Linked DNA regions of Homo sapiens: region 2 is linked to region 1. The links are contacts of gene promoters, found by promoter capture Hi-C in blood cells and fetal thymus (Javierre and others, 2016). All regions are on one chromosome and are shown on one strand. Each heading gives the region's core, a stretch centred on a gene start or on the middle of the fragment in contact. The rest is flanking DNA. Distances are from core to core; before and after follow the strand shown. Region 1 holds the start of DENND4B (DENN domain containing 4B). Region 2 overlaps TPM3 (tropomyosin 3).

Region 1 (6,665 bases), core at 952-3,451:
CCCTCTATTTCTGCTCAGCTTGCTCTTTGATGACTTCTGCCTTGACCCGTTCTCTTCCTGGCATGCACATGCTCTGGCCCAGCAGGTACGGTGCCCATACTTACTTCGGGCCCCGTGCTCGCTTCTGTCGCTCTGCTTGCTGCCACCTCCCTCTGTCATTGCCTCTGTTCCTGGGGTGGATGAAGGTTGCTGGGCAAAGGGGATATGTTAGCAGGGCTAGGCAGGACACCAGTTCTAAATCCTACTTCCTAAAGATTTGTCTGTATGTCTATAGCTGGAGCAGTTCAGCATGGAGAGCCCATCAGCCAGCCTGGTGCTGGATCCCCCTGGCTTTTCTGAAGGGCCTGGATTTTTAGGGGGTGAGGGGCCAATGGGTGGCCCCCAGGATCCCCACACCTTCAACCACCAGAACTTGACCCACTGTTCCCGCCATGGCTCAGGGCCTAACATCATCCTCACAGGTGAATGGGGGTGGGTGGTGATGGGAAATGGAAGGAGGAAGTGACACATTCACTAATGAGTAGGAGATTGAGGGGTCTTGGAAAAGTTTACAGGACATGGGGTCCTCACCTGTCTCTTCTACCCACAGGGGACTCCTCTCCAGGTTTCTCTAAGGAGATTGCAGCAGCCCTGGCCGGAGTGCCTGGCTTTGAGGTGTCAGCAGCTGGATTGGAGCTAGGGCTTGGGCTAGAAGATGAGCTGCGCATGGAGCCACTGGGCCTGGAAGGGCTAAACATGCTGAGTGACCCCTGTGCCCTGCTGCCTGATCCTGCTGTGGAGGAGTCATTCCGCAGTGACCGGCTCCAATGAGGGCACCTCATCACCATCCCTCTTCTTGGCCCCATCCCCCACCACCATTCCTTTCCTCCCTTCCCCCTGGCAGGTAGAGACTCTACTCTCTGTCCCCAGATCCTCTTTCTAGCATGAATGAAGGATGCCAAGAATGAGAAAAAGCAAGGGGTTTGTCCAGGTGGCCCCTGAATTCTGCGCAAGGGATGGGCCTGGGGGAACTCAAGGGAGGGCCTAAAGCACTTGTAACTTTGAACCGTCTGTCTGGAGGTCAGAGCCTGTTGGAAAGCAGGGGTAGAGGGGAGCCCTGGAAGCAGGGCTTTTCCGGATGCCTAGGGGTGGGCAGTGCCAGCCCCTCCTCACCACTCTTCCCCTTGCAGTGGAGGAGAGAGCCAGAGTGGATACTATTTTTTATTAAATATATTATTATATGTTAATAAAAAAATCATATCAAACCCTTGGTGTGGTTAGTTATTTGGGGCATGGCTGGGGATCTAGGGAGTTATAGGGCCATGGGTCTTTTTATCTATTAGGCTTTTTGCATCTTCTTAGCACCACTGTGCTTTGTGGAAGGGCCCCACAGCCTCGGAATTTGTACCCAGCTGGATGTAGGCTTCCACGGCAGCAGGAAATCACTTCATGTGCCCTCCTGTCTGTCCAGGGCCCTGCTGCAGCATCAGATGGGGGCTTTGACTGATCAGACAAGTTATTCCTCTTCCTCAACCCTAGGTCTGGCAGTGAGTCGGGTAAGGAGGTGATTGCTGGCTGAGCCCACAGGTCTGAAGTGCTCCTAGGTCTCAGGGAAGCAAGCCTTCATCCTCACTCCCTCACTATGCATGCATTCACTTCACCCTCTCCACTCTTCACCACTCATTCATTTTAGTTTTAATTAAACAGATCCTTCAGTGCCATGCATGTTCTGAAGGTTTTCTCTTTCTGGATTGGGTTGCCAGCCCTTGGACCAGCCGTGTGGGCCTCTGCACCCCTCACTCCCCCAACCCGCATAGTGAGAAAAGTAGAGCCCCGCAGTTACCTTACCCCCACCTCCACTGCTCTATTCCACACCCTGCAGTCCTGGCCTCTCTTCCTCTTTCCAAAGCTCTTGTCATTTTCAAAAAAGAGAACTGAGAGCTTCTGGTTCTGGTCCAAAGGGAATGCCCTGTGCCCTAAACCTGGAAGTAGGGGGAGCCACCTGGGTCCCCGTAGACTAGACCTTCGGGACTTCACCTGCGCCCACATCATGCTTGCCACATCTGACTGCAGGACCCAGGCGGGAAGGGAGCGCGCCGCGGCCCTCTGGGTCGCCTGGGGTCAGTGTCCTGAGGCACGGGCTGGATGGTGGGAAGCTACCTGGGTGCAGGGGGCCCTCCCAGCCGCCAGGGGTCGGGCTGCAGGCGGCTGGGCTTTGGGCAGACGCTTGCCAGGGTCACGGCCGCCGGCCGAGGAGGAGGGGTGGGGGTAGCGGCGGCGCCCGCGGCCCGGAGCGGGGGTTGGGGGAGTAGAGAAAGCGGGGCGCGCGGAGGAACGCTGGGTCCCCGGCGCCGCGGGAGCTGGGAGGACCGAGCCGGCCGAGCGAGCAGCGCGGCAGCACAGTCCCCGCGTGGCGCAGCGCGGCGGGGACGCGGGGACCGCCCGGATCTCCTTCCACTGCGCCCCGCGCTCTGCGGTCCTCGGCCGCCTCTTCTTCCTTCACTCACTGCCCGGGCGGGAGCGGCGCCCAAGTCGGGTGCGCCATGTCTGGGGCCGGGTAGCCCCGCCGCCCGCCGGCCCGCCAGCTCGCCCTCCGAGCCACCCGCCAGCGGGCCGGCCGGCCGGGAAGCGCGGGACAGGCAGGTAGGGGCTGGACCGGGCTGGGCGGCAGGCGGGGACGGGCAGGAGGGAGCGCGGGCGGCAGGCGGGGTGGGGGATGGCCCCCAGCTGCTGTCCCTCACTGCACATCTGGTTCCGGTTCCTCTCTCCTGGGGAAGTGAAAGTGGAGGGGAGGGCACCTCCCGCAATTAGCTCGCCGTGCCCGGCCTCCTGCACCCCCTTCTGCTCCCGTGGGTGCCGGAGTCGGAGCCGCCCTCCCTCCCGCTTGGGTCACGCGGCGGCCGGCGCTGCTGCCGTCACGTCCTCGGCCGCCGGCGCGCCTGCTTCTCTGCCCTCCTGCTCCTTCCTCAGCCTCCTCCCCCTCGGCGCGCCCTCTGCCCCAACCCGAACTTCCCGTCACCCGGCACGCGGGCGTGGGGACCCGGAGTGGGCCCTGTGCCCGTTGTCTTCCCTAGGGAGAAAGGGCTGCTTTCTGCAGGACTCTTCCCTGGCTTGGTGAGGGGAGGCCCCGGTGCGCAGGTCCTGCGGATGGGTGCCACCCACTTGCCCCTCAGAAGGTCCCACCTAATGGCCTCTGCCTGCTGCCTTGGGCATAGGGCTCCCATTCGCCCTCAGTGGATGAGGGACAGGTCTGTGCCCCAGAATTAAATCAAGAGGCTGACGCTGACTCCTGGCTTTACCTCCCAGAAGTGGAGTCTAAATTTAGCTGGGGTTGGTGTGTGTACGTGTGTGCGTGTGTGTGTGCGTGTGTGTGTGTGTGTGTGTGTCCAGAGGCCAGGTGATGAAGAAAGCCAGCCTGGCTCTATGAGATTCCTTATTCCCTGTTCTCTGGGGGAACAGCAGGAGGTTAGCAGGACTGCACATCCTGGAACCATTCTGAGCCTCCTCTGCCTTGCTCAGGATCCTATAGTCTGAGATTCCAACTTGGCGTAATGCTGTGCTGGCACCTTCAATGGTAACCCCACCACCGCCACCGCCACCACACACACCCATAGGCTGACTTCCTCTGAGTTGCAGCTTCCCCTCCACTGTTTCAGGAAGTAACCTCCCTTCCCCTCTGAAGCACCCCCCACGCTTCTGGGCCCCTGCTGCGAGCTACCCACCAGGCTTTTTCCCAGCTTCTGCACCCTGGGGCGCCTCAGGACCCTTGGGGCTCCTACTCCCCGGGGTTGGGCCATGGAGGCAGGTGAGAACTAGGCTGTTGTGGGCCTGTTTCTGTCTCTGGGCTCCATGGTGGAGGGTGTGGGATGGCCGGGACTTGTCTCTCACAACTGCTTTGGATCTAACGAGCTACCTAAGGATCCTGGAGGTGTGAGAACACTGGATTTTGGGCCAGATTGGTGGAGTTAAGCTAGGAGAAAGGACACTTGGGTTCGTTGAAAAGACTCTTAAAGCTTGGGTTTTGTGGGCTTTCTCAGAAACCCATGGGGTCCTCTTAAAAACCTAGGAGTGGGCTCTTTAAGAACATTGGCAGGATCACAAGGTTCTTATGGTGTCATAACTAGAGTAGGAAGGTCAGAAACCCTTGAAAAGACTGTAAGGTTGGTATGATGTCATGGCCAGCATGAATGATGTCATGGAAGGCTATTACAAAAAAGATTGTGATCTCTGTGATGTTATAACTGGTGAGCCTTTAAAAGGGACACATGGACAATGTGAATGTCATAGCTCAGGTTAGCTGTGTGTGGTGGAGTTTAGGTTCTTTGAGGGGAGTGCCAGGACCATTAAGTGGGAGGGATCTGGTCTCTTTAAGAAGCTGTGGTGGGCAGTGATGTCACAGGGGGAAGAGTTCAGGATTGGCCGACCCCTTATCCTGCCTTTCTTTGGAAGGACTAGGAAGAGGAGGGGAGCAAGAGGGTACCCTGGTTGCCATGGCATCCCCAGCCTTCCTTGCTTCATCTCTCTCCCACTTGACCATTCCAGATGCAGTGAGTGAGGGGGGGGCCATGGCGGAGGAGCGGCCCCCCCGGCTGGTGGATTACTTCGTGGTAGCTGGGCTTGCAGGGAACGGAGCACCCATCCCTGAGGAAACGTGGGTTCCTGAACCCAGTGGGCCCCTGCGCCCTCCCCGGCCAGCTGAGCCCATCACAGATGTGGCAGTCATCGCTAGGGCACTGGGCGAGGAAGTGCCCCAGGGCTACACATGCATCCAGGCTTCTGCTGGGGGCCACCCCTTGGAACTCAGTGCTGGACTTCTGGGTGGAACTCAACCCGTCATCTGCTACCGCAGGGGCCGTGACAAGCCCCCCCTCGTTGAGCTGGGGTGTGTGCCCCTACCCATGCTGGCACCAGGGGAGGCTGGGAGGGACTCCAGTGAGACAGGGAGAGGTAGGACTATGGAACAAGGGAAGGGCAATGGGGATGGGAGCCTGGTGGGCCAGGGGCCAGGAAGGAAGGACTGAAGTTGTATGTACTTAGTCCTTACAGATGCGATTTCATGTGCTAGTGCTGCTCCTTGCTAGCTCTGAGAGCTTAGGCAGGTTTTTGAGCTCCTCTGGGCCTGTTTTCCTCATCTGTCAAATGGGGAAAATAATTCATCCTCATAGGATGGTCGAGATTAAATGAGATAACCCATGTGACAGACTTAACAGAGTCAGTCAGTGGTAGCTTGTATAACTATTTTTTTTTTTTTTTTTTTTTTTATAGACAGAGTCTCTCTCTGTCACTCAGGCTGGAGTGCAGTGGTGTGATCTTGGCTCACTGCAACCTTCGCCTCCTGGGTTCAGGCAATTCTCCTGCCTCAGCTTCCTGAGTAGCTGAGACTATAGGCATGTGCCACCACGTCCAGCTAATTTTTGAATTTTTAGTAGAGATGGGGTTTGACCATGTTGGCCAGGCTGGTCCTGAACCCCTGACCTCAGGTGATCCACCTGCCTTGGCCTCCCAAAGTGCTGGGATTATAGGCATGAGCCACCGTGCCCAGCTGACCCTTAGTGTTTATTAATGAGTATGAGAGCCATAGAAGGCATGCAGGATTGTTGCTGACCATGAAATAAGGCCAAAGGCCAAAGAAAGGGCACAGGATTCTGGAGGGCAGAGTTCAGCAAGAAGAGGTGGGCCCTAGTGTTAGAGTTTGACAAGGCTGTGGGTACAAGGCAAGTTCAGGGGATTAGATAGGCAGATCTGGCAGGATTGGGTCTTTGTCCTCTACCCTGACCTCTCAACATCTATCTTTGCTCTCTGTGCCAAGGGTGTTGTATGAGGGGAAGGAACGTCCCAAGCCTGGCTTCCAAGTGCTTGACACGACACCCTACAGCCACTCAGCAAACCTGGCCCCTCCAGGCCCCGGGCACCCCCGCACCTACCTCACTTACCGGCGGGCAGCAGAGGGGGCAGGGCTGCATGCCCTGGGCATCACTGACCTCTGCCTGGTGCTGCCCAGTAAGGGCGAGGGCACTCCTCATACTTACTGCCGGCTGCCCCGCAACCTCAACCCTGGCATGGTGAGTGGGGCCAAGAGCTGACACCTGGTCCTCTTGGTGTAAGAGTGGGTGTGGACACTGGGAACAAAGGGCATCCCAGGACCAAGGCTCTGACCACAGGGGTGAGTCCAGAGGGGTAACTCTGGTCTTGGGGCACTGGGATTAATGGGAGCTTTAAAGACAAAAGAACATTTAGGGGTGGTAGAGAGAAAGTGGACCCCAGAAACCTTTGTTAGCTATGTATCTGCTTGTCTCTTGCCATTTCTGGGGTAGTGGGGCCCAGCAGTGTACCTGTGCTATAAGGTGGGCCTGGCGAAGGCCAACACGCTGGTGTACGAGGCAGGTGAGTGGCCCCTTTATCCCTCCAATCCTGTGACCCTACATCCCTTTGCCCTGGTGCCTCTTGGCAGGCACCTTAAGTGTCCCCAGAGTTTACTTTCTCTTTGCTACTCGGGCCTTCTCTGGGATCCCTTGGTTCATTTCCCTTGGAGTCTGATGGACCCTGCTCCTTTTGGGTACCCCCAACTATGCTGGGGGTGCAGAGCTGCTGGGCCGCTACCCGGAGGAGGACAATGAGGCGTTCCCGCTGCCCGAGTCAGTGCCCGTCTTCTGCCTGCCCATGGGGGCCACTATCGAGTGCTGGCC
Region 2 (7,157 bases), core at 2,664-5,163, 230 kb before region 1:
GTGATTCCTGCCTCCCATCCCCCCTCTTTTTTTTTTTAGATGGAGACTTGCTCTGTAGCCCAGCCTGGAATGCAGTTGCACGATCTCTGCTCACTGCAACCTCCACCTCCCAGGCTCAAGTGATTCTCCTGCCTTAGCCTCCTGAGTGGCTGGGATTACAGGCATCCACCACCACACTCGGCGATTTTTTTTTATTATTTTATTTTTTTATTTTTAGTAGAGATGGGGTTTCACCATGTTGGCCAGGCTGGTTTCAAACTCCTGACCTCAAGTGATCTGCCTGCCTCAGCCTCCCAAAGTGCTGAGATTACAGGCATGAGCCACTGCGCCTGTCCTGGGGTGATGTTTCTTAAGCTACTTTCACTCAGAGCCTGCCAAATTTGCTTATTGAGCTGAGGTCTAGTGAGGAAGTCCTCAGAATGGGGAAGTAGAGTTATAGTTAAATATTGATGAAATCATTTCTTCTACTCCCCAGCCTGAAGAAGCTTAATCTTTTGACTTTCTGCTGCTCTGCTGAACTTTGAACCCCTACTGAGGAGGAGACACCTGTGGGAAGGGAGGGGGGTTGCTTGGGCTACCTGTTATCCTCTTAAGGCATTCTGGAATGTGGGTTTTGCAGACTCCTCCCTCCTCTGGAGCGGGAAACTGCACTCTCTGATGGTATCTCATGCTGTTAGTGGGATTGTCACTTAATTATTTTCCTGGTTACTTTGTGTGAACATCCAAGCCACCCTTGTTGGGAAGCTAGATGAGTCTAAAACTGAGACACTGGTGTTCTAGGATCCATCTTTCTTTTCTGCTCTCGGCCTGGAAATTGGTCTTTTATAATGTAGCACCTTGTCAAATTTACTTTCAGTTCTGTATTTCCTTTTTACTTCTGTCTAAATGGAAACAGATGGCAACATAATGTTTAAATGCAGTCTTTTTCCTTATCTCTTTTTTTTTGTGGTAGTGGTGATAAAAATACATGTAAAATTTACCATTTTAACCATTTATAAATGTACAGTTCACCTTATCTGTTTTTAATAACTCTCTCCTAATTGTCCCTGATATTTTTCTCTTTTTAATTTTTTTCTAGTCTAAAAAACTTAAGAGGCTGGGTGCGGTGGCTCACACCTGTAATCCCAGCCCTTTGGGAGGCCTAGGCGGGTGGATCTGAGGTCCACCTGTGGATCTGATGAAACCCCATCTCTACTAAAAATACAAAAAATTAGCTGGGCATGGTGGCGCATGCCTGTAATCCCAGCTACTTGGGAGGCTGAGGCACAAGAATTGCTTCAACCCTGGAGGCGGAGGTGGCAGTGAACCAGGATTGGATCATGCCACTGTACTCCAGCCTGGGCGAGTATCGGCACTGGGGGAGTGAGGGGTCAACTGCGGGAGTGTAAGGTCAGCACACTACCTCTGCCTCAAAAAGAAAAAAAAAAGTAATAACAAAAACCTTAAGAGTACTACCGAGGGAGTGGGCTTTGATTCTGGCCTTAATCCTAAATTCCTAGTCTCTGGAGAGGTTAGAATGCTTGACTGTTGTGTGGTTCTCTTCTATTCGTGGGCCTGGTGGACTAAGCAACCTTTCTTTGGTTGCTTTGCTTTCCTTTCTCTTTCCCCAGTACTAGAACACACACTCACAGGGGAGAGGCAGATAGCCCTTTACCCCTGCTTAGGCTCCGCCTTTGTTTACTGTGGGGCAGATAGCTCTACTCCCTTCCAACTTGCCTCCCCTTTGGTGAAGTTTAAATTCCCCAAGGACACGGTATCTCCCTGGGTAATGCATTTGTGAGCACAGTGAACTCAAATAGTCCTTTACTCACAGGGCTCAAGCCTAACTTTCTGATACTCTTTCATTTGAATTTTATCTGTGGCTTTTATCTAATAAGAGAAACCCCAGTGTGGCAGAAAGCCAGATTTAGGCTAATCCCCTTCTGTCCTTGGCCCTGTTCTGCCTGAGAGTACCATCACACTGTCAGTTTCTTGCCTGGAGGGGTTGACATATTTGGGAAATCTCTTTGGAGTGGAGGATAGCCGAAGGTGTTGTCAGCCATCTGGTAATGTGACTGAGTTGCTGGGGCATTCTACTCTTTCCCCAATCCCTCACCCAGGATCTTTGCTTCCTGGGCAGTGGAGAATCCTATTATTACTTGAAGGGAAGAACCACAGAGTACTGTATATCCTCCACACTGGGCAGAGATAGGTCAGCTGAAACACCAAAACCGCATCTGGATGGGCATGCTAAAACCTAAGATGATTAGGAAAGTGCAGAGCTTAACGTTTCCCAGGGCCACAGGTAGCCTGGTCTGCAAAAAGTAGGCCTGTTCAATCTCTTGGTACCCATTGGTATTATTTGACCTGAAAGGGACAGGCACTGTGCATAGACTCATGAGGGAAAAGTCAGCTTGTCTTCCTTGTTCCTTTAAACAAAGTATCAGATCTTGATTCTGCAGGCTTTTGTTTCATTGTAAAGAGAACTGATCCTCTGTGCTAGGAGAAAAGAGAAAGGCAAGGTCCCATTCCCTACCACTCCACCCTGGAGGGGGTCTCTGAAGCTTTTTCTAGGACTCCCATCTCAGGTTCTGCTTTTGATACAGGCTTGTTCATGTGTGCATGCTCTTAGGAGGGCACCAAGATGTGTTTTCCCCCTCTCCCTTTTCAGCCTTGCTAAGAATTCTATTGTAAATGCTGATTTGTGGGAGAAACTGCCTGAGCCAGCTTGCTGTCATGGCAACTGTACACCCCCGCCCCATAGCCTGTTATCTTCTACTCCAGTTTGGGTAACTACTGGTGAGCTGCATGATGTCTTACATTTCATGAGCTTCCTCTAAATCTAGTTGTATTTTTCGTCTGAGGGGGGTAAGTCATTTTACTAGCAGTGTCTCCTAGGTCTTGCCTGATAGCCTGACTTGCTCTTGATCCATGGCCTTGTTGGGTTTGTGAGGAGAAATGTGTGTTGTTACAGAGAACATCTATTTTTCTGGAAGAGGCAGAAGCAGAGAATACTTGTCTTTGTGGTGTTTTGAGTAGTGTAGTTAGAGGCACAAATGGTTTCTTAATGATTTCAGCTTATGTTGACTTCTCGATTTTCTTTGCCTGGTGGCTAGATTGTAGCCCCAGCCCTCTGCTTCCCTTCCTAGTCTCTTCAGCTTCTCATGTTTGTATGTGGAAGTTTTTGTGCCAGTCCTGATGGTTAAAAAGGAGTCTTTTGGTCTATATTCTTCCTCATCGGAGCTAGTGGCCCAGGCTGTTTCTATAGCTGCACCAACTCCTGCCTGCCAGGAAGAAATCAGGGTAATAGAATTCAGGCACAATCTGGGCTATAGAAGAGAGATCGTGTTTACCAGGCACTTGGATAAGCATCTGAACTGGGTGGTGTGCGGGGCATATTAAATTCTTGTATACTGTTGCAGTCAGGGTACCTCCCACCAGTAAAGGTAGCGGGGAGGCAGTCATGGAAAGAGGTTTTCCTACCATTAGAATTTATCCATCCACCTGCAGGCTGCCTCCTTCTTTCCTTGTTTCTTAGAGAAAACCCATCCAGGATGGGTTTACTTGGACTCTAACCTATATACTTCATTGTGAGATGGAGGCCAGGGGGAAGATTGTCGCTGTATTAGAGGGTGAAGCTAAGGGGATGGCTGGAGGAATAGAAAGGAGAAAATTCAGAAATTTGGAGGAATGGTAGTGGGTGTGGTGGAAATGTTCTTTCTTTTTTGTAAAGCTATCAAAGCAGATAATTTTAGCCAGAAGCAGCTCCTTGTAGCCAACTTAAAAAAGGAGTACGGGGGCACAAGTTGAAGGGCTGGTGAGTAGGCATCCCAACAATATTCCATTCTTTTGCTTTCCAGTCTGGAAGGCTATTCTGGAAGACATTCCCTTGGCTAGTTATTCTTCTGATGTGTTAGGGTAAAGTGATCATAGGAATAACGGTTTGAGTTAAGCAGCAATTAATAGGTAATCCAGGATTCCCTCTTTTTTTTTTTTTTTTTTTGAAATGGAGTTTCACCGTGTTGCCCAGGCTGGAGTGTAGTGGCGCAATCTCAGCTCAGTACAACCTCTGCCTCCCGGGTTCAAGGGATTCTTCTGCCTCAGCCTCCCGAGTAGCTGGGACTAGAGGTACGCGCCACCACACCTGGCTAATTTTTGTATTTTTTATTAGAGTCAGGGTTTCACCATATTGGCCAGGCTGGTCTCAAATTCCTGACCTCATGATCCACCCGCCCCAGCCTCCCAGAATACTGGGATTACAGGCATGAGCCACCACACCCAGTCAGGATACCCTCTTTAAGAAACCTTGCTTTTTTTTTTTTTTTTTTCCTGCTTTATGAGACACTTGAAAGGTTACTGAGGATGAGACATGCCTCCAAGCCAGAGCTCAGGCAGAAGGAACCCTTCATTGACTTTCTTTTCTGACTCCAGTGTGTTGAGGAATTTGAACTGAGTCCAGGAAGTGGGTGGTACTAACTCACTGGGCTGGGCAAGGAACTGAGTTTTAAAACACTCTTCCTGTGGAACATATGGGAGTTCGTTGATGGGAAAGGGAGGAAATATATATATATAAAGTTATGTCTGCTAGATCTTTTAACAGCTGAGCTAAGACAAGTTCTACCCTGCGAGACTCTGGCTTTTTCATGGTAGTCAACCCTGATCTTAATGTCATAGTTATTTCTTCTTTTCTCCATGCCTCTGCTTCCCTTGTCCATTCTTTCCTTCAAATGCAGGCTGAGGCTGAGGTGGCCTCCTTGAACCGTAGGATCCAGCTGGTTGAAGAAGAGCTGGACCGTGCTCAGGAGCGCCTGGCCACTGCCCTGCAAAAGCTGGAAGAAGCTGAAAAAGCTGCTGATGAGAGTGAGAGGTGTGTAGGGAAGCCTGATGGAGTGTGGATTTTAAAAGTTCATAATAGTTCTGATCAAGATTTCCTTATAGACCTGTTTTCTAAATAGCAATTCTGGCTGCGTGTGATGGCTCACGCCTGTAATCCCAGCACTTTGGGACGCTGAGGCAGGAGGGTGGCTCAAGCCCAGGAAGTTGGGGCTACAGTGAGCTCTGATTGCGCCACTGCACTCCTGGGTGACAGAGAAAGACCCTGTGTCAATCAGTCAATAAAAATAAAATACTAACTCCATCACACAGGATCTCCTTTCTATTCTGCATATTCTGTCCCCTTGAAGACAGTAAGGGTAACTTAGATGTTGTGACCCTTTTGTAATTGGTATTTCCTTACAAATTGGCCTAATGATCCTTAAAATGGGATCACCAGTATGACTTCTACTTTCTGGATCATAAGCTTCTATTTGTGAGATTAATTTCTCTAAAACAGAGGTTCTCTAAGTAAGGTCTCAGACCAGCAGCATCAGCAATACTTGGGAACTTGGTAAAAATTCACATTCTCAGCTCCTATGCTGATCTGCTGAATCAGAAACTTTGGATGTGGGGCCTGGCAATCTGTTTTTAGTAAGCCTTCTCAACGCTGGTTGCATTATTAGAATCATAGGTAGGGGTGAGGGGGGAAATCACTGGGGAATTTAAAACTGGATGCTTAGATCTCATCCCAGTTCCATTAGAATCAGTTGCAAGAGGGGTCTGGGCATTGATGTTTTTAAAGTTCTCCAGCTAATTTTTTTTTTTTTTTTTTTTTTGAGACAGAGTCTCGCTCTATAGCCCAGGCTGGAGTGCAGTGGCGCAATCTGGGCTCACTGCAAGCTCCGCCTCCCGGGTTCACGCCATTCTCCTGCCTCAGCCTCCCAAGTAGCTGGGACTACAGGTGTCCGCCACCACGCCCGGCTAATTTTTTGTATTTTTAGTAGAGACAGGGTTTCACCGTATTAGCCAGGATGGTCTTGATCTCCTGCCTTTGTGATCCTCCCGCCTCGGCCTCCCAGTGTGCTGGGATTACAGGCGTGAGCCACTGCGCCCGGCCTTCCCCAGCTAATTTTAATGTGTTCCTAGGGTTGAGAACCATGGCCCTTGAAACAAATTATAACTCATGTTTTTGAAAATAGCCAGTTGTCTCCTTGCCACATGTGAGTTAAACTAGAACAGAGGTGCTTGACAACTAAGGGTTTTCAGAATAAATAGTGCCTTTCTAAGGGTACGTTACTACTGTGCAGCTGTGAAAATGAAAGAGGCAGCTATGTGTATACTATTAGAGTAGCATGCAAATTATAGAAAGTGAGGGCCGGGCGCAGTGGCTCACACCTGTAATCCCAGCACTTTGGGAGCCTGAGGTGGACGATCACTTGAGGCCAGGAGTTCAAGACCACCCCAGCCAACACAGCAAAATCCAGTCTCTGGTAAAAGTACAAAAATTAGCCAGGCGTGGTGGGGCGCGCCTGTAATCCCAGCTACTCAGGAGGCTAAGGCACGAGAAGCACTGGAACCCAAGAGGCGGAGGTTGCAGTGAGCCTCCCTCTTTTTTTTGGTCTCAAAAAAAAAAAAAGAAAGAAAGTGAGGATAGCTGCATGCTGAATACCGGGGGGAAAAAAAAGAGTGTGGAAAACAAGTTGCAGAACCGTCTAGTATATTATTACTTTGGGGAAGCTGGGATGGGATTTTTGTGTGTATATATATATATATATATATATATATATATATATATATACACATATATTTAAATAATATTTATTTATTTTTTTGAGACAGAGTCTCACTCTATCCCCTAGGCTGGAGTGCAGTGGCACAATCTCGGCTCACTGCAACCTCCACCTCCCGGGTTCAAGCCATTCTCATGCTTCAGCTTCCCTCAAGTAGCTGGGATTACAGGCGCCTGCCACCACGCCTGACTAATTTTTGTATTTCTAGTACAGACAGGGTTTTGCCATGTTGACCAGGCTGGTCTCAAACTCCTGACCTCAGGTGATCTGCCGGCTTCGGCCTCCCAAAGTGCTGGGATTACAGGCGTGAGCCACCACGCCCAGCTGTATATATCCATATTTTTATTTAATATTTTAGTATTTAATTTCTTAATAAGTTTTTTTGGGGGTGGTGGAGGAGACGGTGTCTCACTCTGTCGCCCAGGCTGGAGTGCAGCAGTGCGATCTTGGCTTACTGCAACCTCTGCCTCCCGGGTTCAAGTGATTATCTTGCCTCAGTAGATGGGATTACAGGTGCTTGCCACCACACCTGGCTAATTTTTGTATTTTTAGTAGGGACAGGGTTTCACCATG

The links. Contacts are between HindIII fragments. The CHiCAGO score rates a contact against its expected background, and 5 or more counts as called.
Region 2: a contact is called between a fragment that was not itself captured here and the fragment with the promoter of DENND4B in region 1, in 3 of 17 cell types (M0 macrophages, total B cells and M1 macrophages). The highest score is 9.2, in M0 macrophages.

What each region holds. Positions count from the first base shown.
Region 1 is chr1:153,942,254-153,948,918 of GRCh38, reverse strand. It overlaps DENND4B (DENN domain containing 4B), which reads left to right and starts at 2,201. Exons shown (of 28, transcript NM_014856.3): 1 at 2,201-2,618; 2 at 4,522-4,861; 3 at 5,789-6,041; 4 at 6,294-6,363; 5 at 6,563-6,665. The coding sequence starts at 4,545. CRTC2 (CREB regulated transcription coactivator 2) reads left to right here. Exons shown (of 14, transcript NM_181715.3): 13 at 275-461; 14 at 590-1,244. The coding sequence ends at 810. RefSeq lists enhancers at 1,630-1,699, 2,511-3,011, 3,480-3,529, 3,850-3,949 and a silencer at 2,090-2,989. The HindIII fragment of the contact is 4,483 bases long and covers 1-3,994 here.
Region 2 is chr1:154,173,804-154,180,960 of GRCh38, reverse strand. It overlaps TPM3 (tropomyosin 3), which reads left to right. Exons shown (of 10, transcript NM_152263.4): 3 at 4,713-4,846. Among named protein-coding and RNA genes, the nearest start is that of TPM3, 15 kb to the left of the region's middle. RefSeq lists an enhancer at 1-768. The HindIII fragment of the contact is 2,735 bases long and covers 2,546-5,280 here.